Linked DNA regions of Homo sapiens: region 1 is linked to region 2. Evidence: promoter capture Hi-C in human tissues and cell types (Jung and others, 2019). All regions are on one chromosome and are shown on one strand. The core of a region is centred on a gene start or on the middle of the fragment in contact, and the rest is flanking DNA. Distances in the headings are between cores, read along the strand shown. Region 1 overlaps SPO11 (SPO11 initiator of meiotic double strand breaks). Region 2 holds the start of TFAP2C (transcription factor AP-2 gamma).

Evidence for each region. Contacts are between HindIII fragments. The study calls those that stand out against the background at their distance.
Region 1: a contact is called between a fragment that was not itself captured here and the fragment with the promoter of TFAP2C in region 2, in 1 of the 25 tissues and cell types used here (mesendoderm cells).

What each region holds. Positions count from the first base shown.
Region 1 is chr20:57,341,344-57,344,043 of GRCh38, reverse strand. SPO11 (SPO11 initiator of meiotic double strand breaks) reads right to left here. Exons shown (of 13, transcript NM_012444.3): 12 at 1,204-1,315; 13 at 51-703. The coding sequence ends at 584. Among named protein-coding and RNA genes, the nearest start is that of RAE1, 8.6 kb to the left of the region's middle. The HindIII fragment of the contact is 5,962 bases long and covers 1-2,700 here.
Region 2 is chr20:56,628,003-56,630,702 of GRCh38, reverse strand. TFAP2C (transcription factor AP-2 gamma) reads right to left here and starts at 1,397. Exons shown (of 7, transcript NM_003222.4): 1 at 1,111-1,397. The coding sequence starts at 1,158. RefSeq lists silencers at 1,076-1,370, 1,427-1,486. The HindIII fragment of the contact is 13,903 bases long and covers 1-2,700 here.

The DNA of each region.
Region 1 (2,700 bases), core at 18-2,517, 710 kb before region 2:
TTATCAATAAAAAATAGGCTCAATACAAAATAAAGCAAAACACTGAAGACTACATCAATCCAAATATTTATTCATACTGAATTTTACTAATGTAACAAATGAATTAATGGAGTAAGACCCCTAAAGTATAAAGGCAAAGGAAAATGTAAGAAGAAACTACCGGACACCACAATTCATTTGCAACATCTCAAATTCAGATCATTATGATTTTTGTTACCAGTAAGATACTTTATGCGTTAACATTAGTTGTATCGTAGAAGGTAAATATTTTGTAGACTTTGATGACATGTATAAAATATTATTTTTTCAAAAATAATTTAAAGGTCAAAATAACATATTCTTTTATAATTTGCTTTAGAAGATAGGACAGAAATCTGTCTCTATAGAGGCAAGAATAAGGCCTTGCAAAGAAAATTGGAGTACAGCATTTGTTTTGACAAAAATATATAATTAACGGAAAGTTATTTTATTTCACTTTTACAGAATTAAGAATATAATATATGTTCTTTCCACAATAGTATTTGCCAATCAAAACAAAACTAATGAAAAGCCTCTGGCAATCAGAAGTTCTTCTGATTTATTTTTATATCCATCCTCCAAATTTTAATTTGTTAGGTAAGTACACTCTGGAAAGATAATCTGATGATAGGAAAGTCAAAGCTTGAATTTCTGCCTTCATTTTAGAGTCTGCCATTATTTCCATCTGTCAATAAAAGTAAAATGTACTCATACCAGAGTTCTTAGTTGCATTTCTGTCAATTCAACAAACTAGTAATCTAGAATTGCTTTATTCTCCAAAACCAGGGACAATAGTCTTAAGGGTCAGCCAGAATATTCCAGAGCTGCTACAGCTAAAAATATCTGGAGTGAGAGTACTCTGTATGCTGTCTTCAATAATTAGGGATAGTCTGAAATCTTTATGATTTCTTCTTCCTTTTTTTAATCCCACAAACTATGATACAGCCATCAAGAATGTGTATATAACCATGATAAGGATACAAACAGGCCAGCTCCATTCACTGATCTCATCTATTAGCATTCATATGACTCAATTTCAACAACTATTTACTGCCAAACAACACTTATGTTAGTCGTGTCATATAAAATTTCAAGAGGGATATTTTCAAAATACGATGTGAATAGCCACTACTAAAGTAAAAGACAATTAAACATGCAACACTTGAGTTGTAAAAGGAAACATACTTCTTTTCTCCAAAATGGTTGGCAGGTAACATAAGGTCTCCTCAGGATACTGTCAAGTTTCATTTGGTCCCTTTTTGTCAGTGGAATCAAACTATCTTTAGGTACATTTAATCTGGAAAAAAGTAGGTGAAAAAAATCAGTAAAAAAGTGTTTCTGTAACTTGAATGTCCTGTATTTTGCCTGTATTTATGGTACTACTTCAAGAAACTCAGAAATAAGAAAATTAGTACAGATCTACCTCTTACATCCAGGATTGAAGGGATCTGTCATGTCTTAGACCAGCAAGTTTTCAAGTTCATAGTGGAAGTTTGTGTTTCCACAGTAAGATTCTAAAGTTTTTGTTTTCCTTCATGTCACACTCGTGGGATGATGACAGGATGACAGGAAGACTGATATTGGTTATTAAACAAATGCCAATAGCACTACCATCAGGTATACAGATACCAGGGCAGCTTAATAATGTACATTAAGCCTCTCAGAGCTTCACACTCTTCTGGCAGTGAGCTCCAATATGCATGGCCAACGGCTGAGATTCACTGAGGGACTTTAGGTTCCATTGAGTATTTAATTCTTCATAATTCATTTGAAGATTCTGGGCCATGGAAGTTAGTGTCTCACTTTTATCATTTTACACACACACACACACACTTTTATCACTTTACACACACACAAACACATTCTTACCTATCTAGTTTTAAATTTGAAAAACGTGGAATATAACTTTATCATGGTATGTGTTTTAAAAATAGAACATGAGAGGTCCTGGATTTATGGTGTGGACTACCTTTTGAAGTCACAAATCCTAGATTTCCCAGGAGAGTCTTTTTCAATGTGTCCATAATTATGACCATTTGCCAGGGGCAGTTCTTGGATAGGGGTGACAATTTGATTGAAAGGGAGGCCTGGAGGATTTCCCTTGCAGCCTGGCTTCTGTAGCTACCATAGTGTTTTTCCTTTGATCGTATATTCATTTGGAGTGGCTTTTTAGTGCACTGATAGAATTTATGAGATGCAGCTAGAGTTTCTTGAAGCTATTCACCTTACTAATTATCAGATCATATGTCTTGAATTTGTGTTAAAATTGTTTTTATACAAACAGATCACCCCCAAGGGATTCTGACCATGACACACATACACTAAATTGAACACGTTAATCCAGTGGAGTGTGAATATTCAAAAATAAAGAATGAAATGTTTCCTCTTGGACCCTCATTTTATAGGAAGTGGCTGATCACCCAAAACCTGTTCACATTCCATATTTAGGAAACAAGCAACTGTTATCAAGGATTGCTCACCACTTAAAGAAATCCAATAAACATGTTTAAATTCATTCTTACTGACCAATTACAACAATAAAACATTTTAAAATATCACATTAGCAGAGGTGAAAAAAAATGTTAATGCCATAAGCTGAGGGACAGGTGGACTCTTACTCTTCAGAGAAAGCAAGAAACTTAATCTATCCAGACAACAGTCAAACCCTGATTATGGGGATCC
Region 2 (2,700 bases), core at 148-2,647:
CTCCCTTCCACGCCCTCGGGACAAAGACCTCCGAGCGGGCGGCGCTCGGAAAGCAGGGCCCGCCACCCTGCGCCGCCCTGGGAAGTGAAGAGGGAGCGCGCGCACAGGGCGGCCCTCCCTGCTGGCCGGGCCCAGCCGAGGGGAGTAATAAGTGGGGGCGCCCTGCACTGCCAAGGGCAGTGTTCTCGCACGTCGGGGCGCAGAGGGGGCATGAAGAACCCTGGAAATTGGGCAGCCTTGCCCGCGCACGTTCCCTCGCCCCTGGGCGGCCCGACTCAGTTTCTAAAGGATGCGTCCCCATCTGCCCAGGGGTCTCGGGGCGCCGGGAACCTGGAGGAACATGGCGCTGTCGCCTCCTGGCGGAAGCGCCCGGGCCTGCGGGCAGGGGCAGCCCTCCAGGGCCCGGAGGCGCAGTGAACTCCCGCGAGTCCGTAGCCCGAGCTCCGCGCTCCCGGCGCCCCTGAGCTCGCCTAGCGCTGCCTGCGTCTTCTTCCTCTTCCCGCTCGCCGCCTCCTTCTTCCCTCCCACTCTCCGAAACTCTAGCTCAACCTGTCCGACAGGCTGGAGCACTCGCGAGCTCTTACGGCCCCATCTGGCCTCGGGCACCCCCACCACCACTCCCCAGCCCCCACTTCTTTTGAAAGCCAAACTTCGGTTGTTTTCGTGCTTCCCCGAGGAGGTAGCGGGGCAGGTGACAAGCCGGCCTTGGAGGAGTGTCCGCCAAGGTGTCGCTAGCAGGTAGCCTCATCTGACCCCTTTGGACAGAGACTTCGTGCGTAAAAGCCACGTCTGAGGGTTGCAGACGGGGCACTTTTCCGAGAAAACGGGAAGCAGGGCTGTTTGCCGCTTAGGAAAGCGCCCGGTAAGCTGTGTGGGTGGGATTTGCCATTCTCTTTCCAGGCCTCGTTCCCGAGGGGAGGCTATTTAGGAAAAGGCCCTATACAGGAAAGGGGCCCCGCAGAAATGGACTAAGGGGTGTCCGGAGAAGTGGATCCCGTCCCACCGAGAGGCCAGGGCTCCTATGCCCTCGTCCCCGACCTCGGTCCAGTGGCCCCTGCCTCCCGGACTGTCCTCGGCGGGGCGGGGCTGCACCCCGGAGCCCCAGCTCACCTCGCAGTCCTCTTCGTACTTGACATTATCGGTTATTTTCCACAACATGGCGTCCGGCGTCCCCCAAAACAGTCGCCAGTTAAATCCAGGATCCCCCCAGCCCCCAAGCGGTAAATCCAAAATCGGGGTCACGGTGACCAGGCGTCTGCCGCCGCCCCCGCCGCGCGCGGGCCTTGCTGTCCGGGTCACTGGACACGCATCGGCGGCTCTGCGAGCGTAGATGCTGCCGCCGCGAGTGTCAAGACCGCTCCGCGGACGGGGAAAGCCGCGCCCGAACAGTGTGTCCTGGCGATAGCCGGGGGACCCGAGCGCCTTAATGAGAAGGAAATTATCATAACTCCTCCCCGGGGGCCGGCGCGGAGGCCCAGGCGCCGGGCGGGGCGGCCCCCAGCCAGTCCCAGCCTAGCTCCGCCCCGCACCCGGGCCTGGCGCAGCGCCGAGCCCCACGCTGTGAGGGACGAAGCGCGGAGTCAGTGGGCGGTGCCTCGTTGACAGCCGAAGACCTGCGAGGCCTGGGTCCCCCGACGCGCCTTCCTTCTGTCACCTCCACCGTAAACACACCTGAGATTGGCAGAGCTGGGGGAAGGGATCCAAATACTGAAACCCACCCCTCTTTCGCCTAAACGGCCTTCACTCGTTCCTCCAAAAGACGGATGTCACCTGGAGTTAAGAAACTGCGCATTTGGGGAGCGACTCAACAACCGGGGTCTCCTCATCTCCTAAAAACACATCCCATCCCACCTACACCCCACTGAGGCTTAAGGTCTGAGCTGGGATCATGCAGCTGGAGCCCCAGTGCGCCAGAGACGCCCAGTTCCCTCCGTGGGCACAGCGCGGTCCCGGCCCCCGGGCGGGAGGAGAGAGGAAGGGACTCCTGGGGAGTCTGCCCCAAGGGCCGCAGAGGCAGCAGACGGTCCTACCCGCCCAGGAGTTGCGGACAGCGGCGTCTCGCCGCTGTCGCCCGAAGTGGCATCTCCCGCGGCTGGCTGAGGCCAGGGGGAACCCGCGCGCACTGGACCAGCCCAGCGGCCCGGCCCTGCCCTGCCCTGCGGAACGCCGGCTCTGCAGCTGCCTCTGGCGGGCCGGTCACTCAGAAGCCTCTACTCGCCCTGGGAAAGAAGCGCCGGGCAGGAATAAAACCCGAGCGCCACGGGTAAGGTGAGGGTGAGGAGGTGCAGGAAGTTGGGAGAGAGCCTGCAGAGAGCTCTCGACTGGAGAGGTAGACACCCAGGTCCCACATGTTTAGACAGAAAACGAAACTTCCTTCCACACAAACGCTGCTTCCCTCTCCCCTTCGGTACTTGCCACCCAAACTTGAAAGCAAAGTGCAATACTAATTTTTAAAATTTAAACTAACGAAATTCTTTGGCCCAGTTATTATGCAGCAATTGACTTTCATTGTAAGGGGAACATCGCTAATTCTCGAGGGCGTATTTGTTGGGACGCCCCAACTGGCTCCCTGGGCTGGATTTAAACATTCTGTGGGGATTAGAGGACAAGACTATTTCTATTTGATACTGAATACGATTTTGCAATAATCAATGCCTATCAGTACGGTGTCCGCACCTGCAGTAGACATGACTCTCCCAT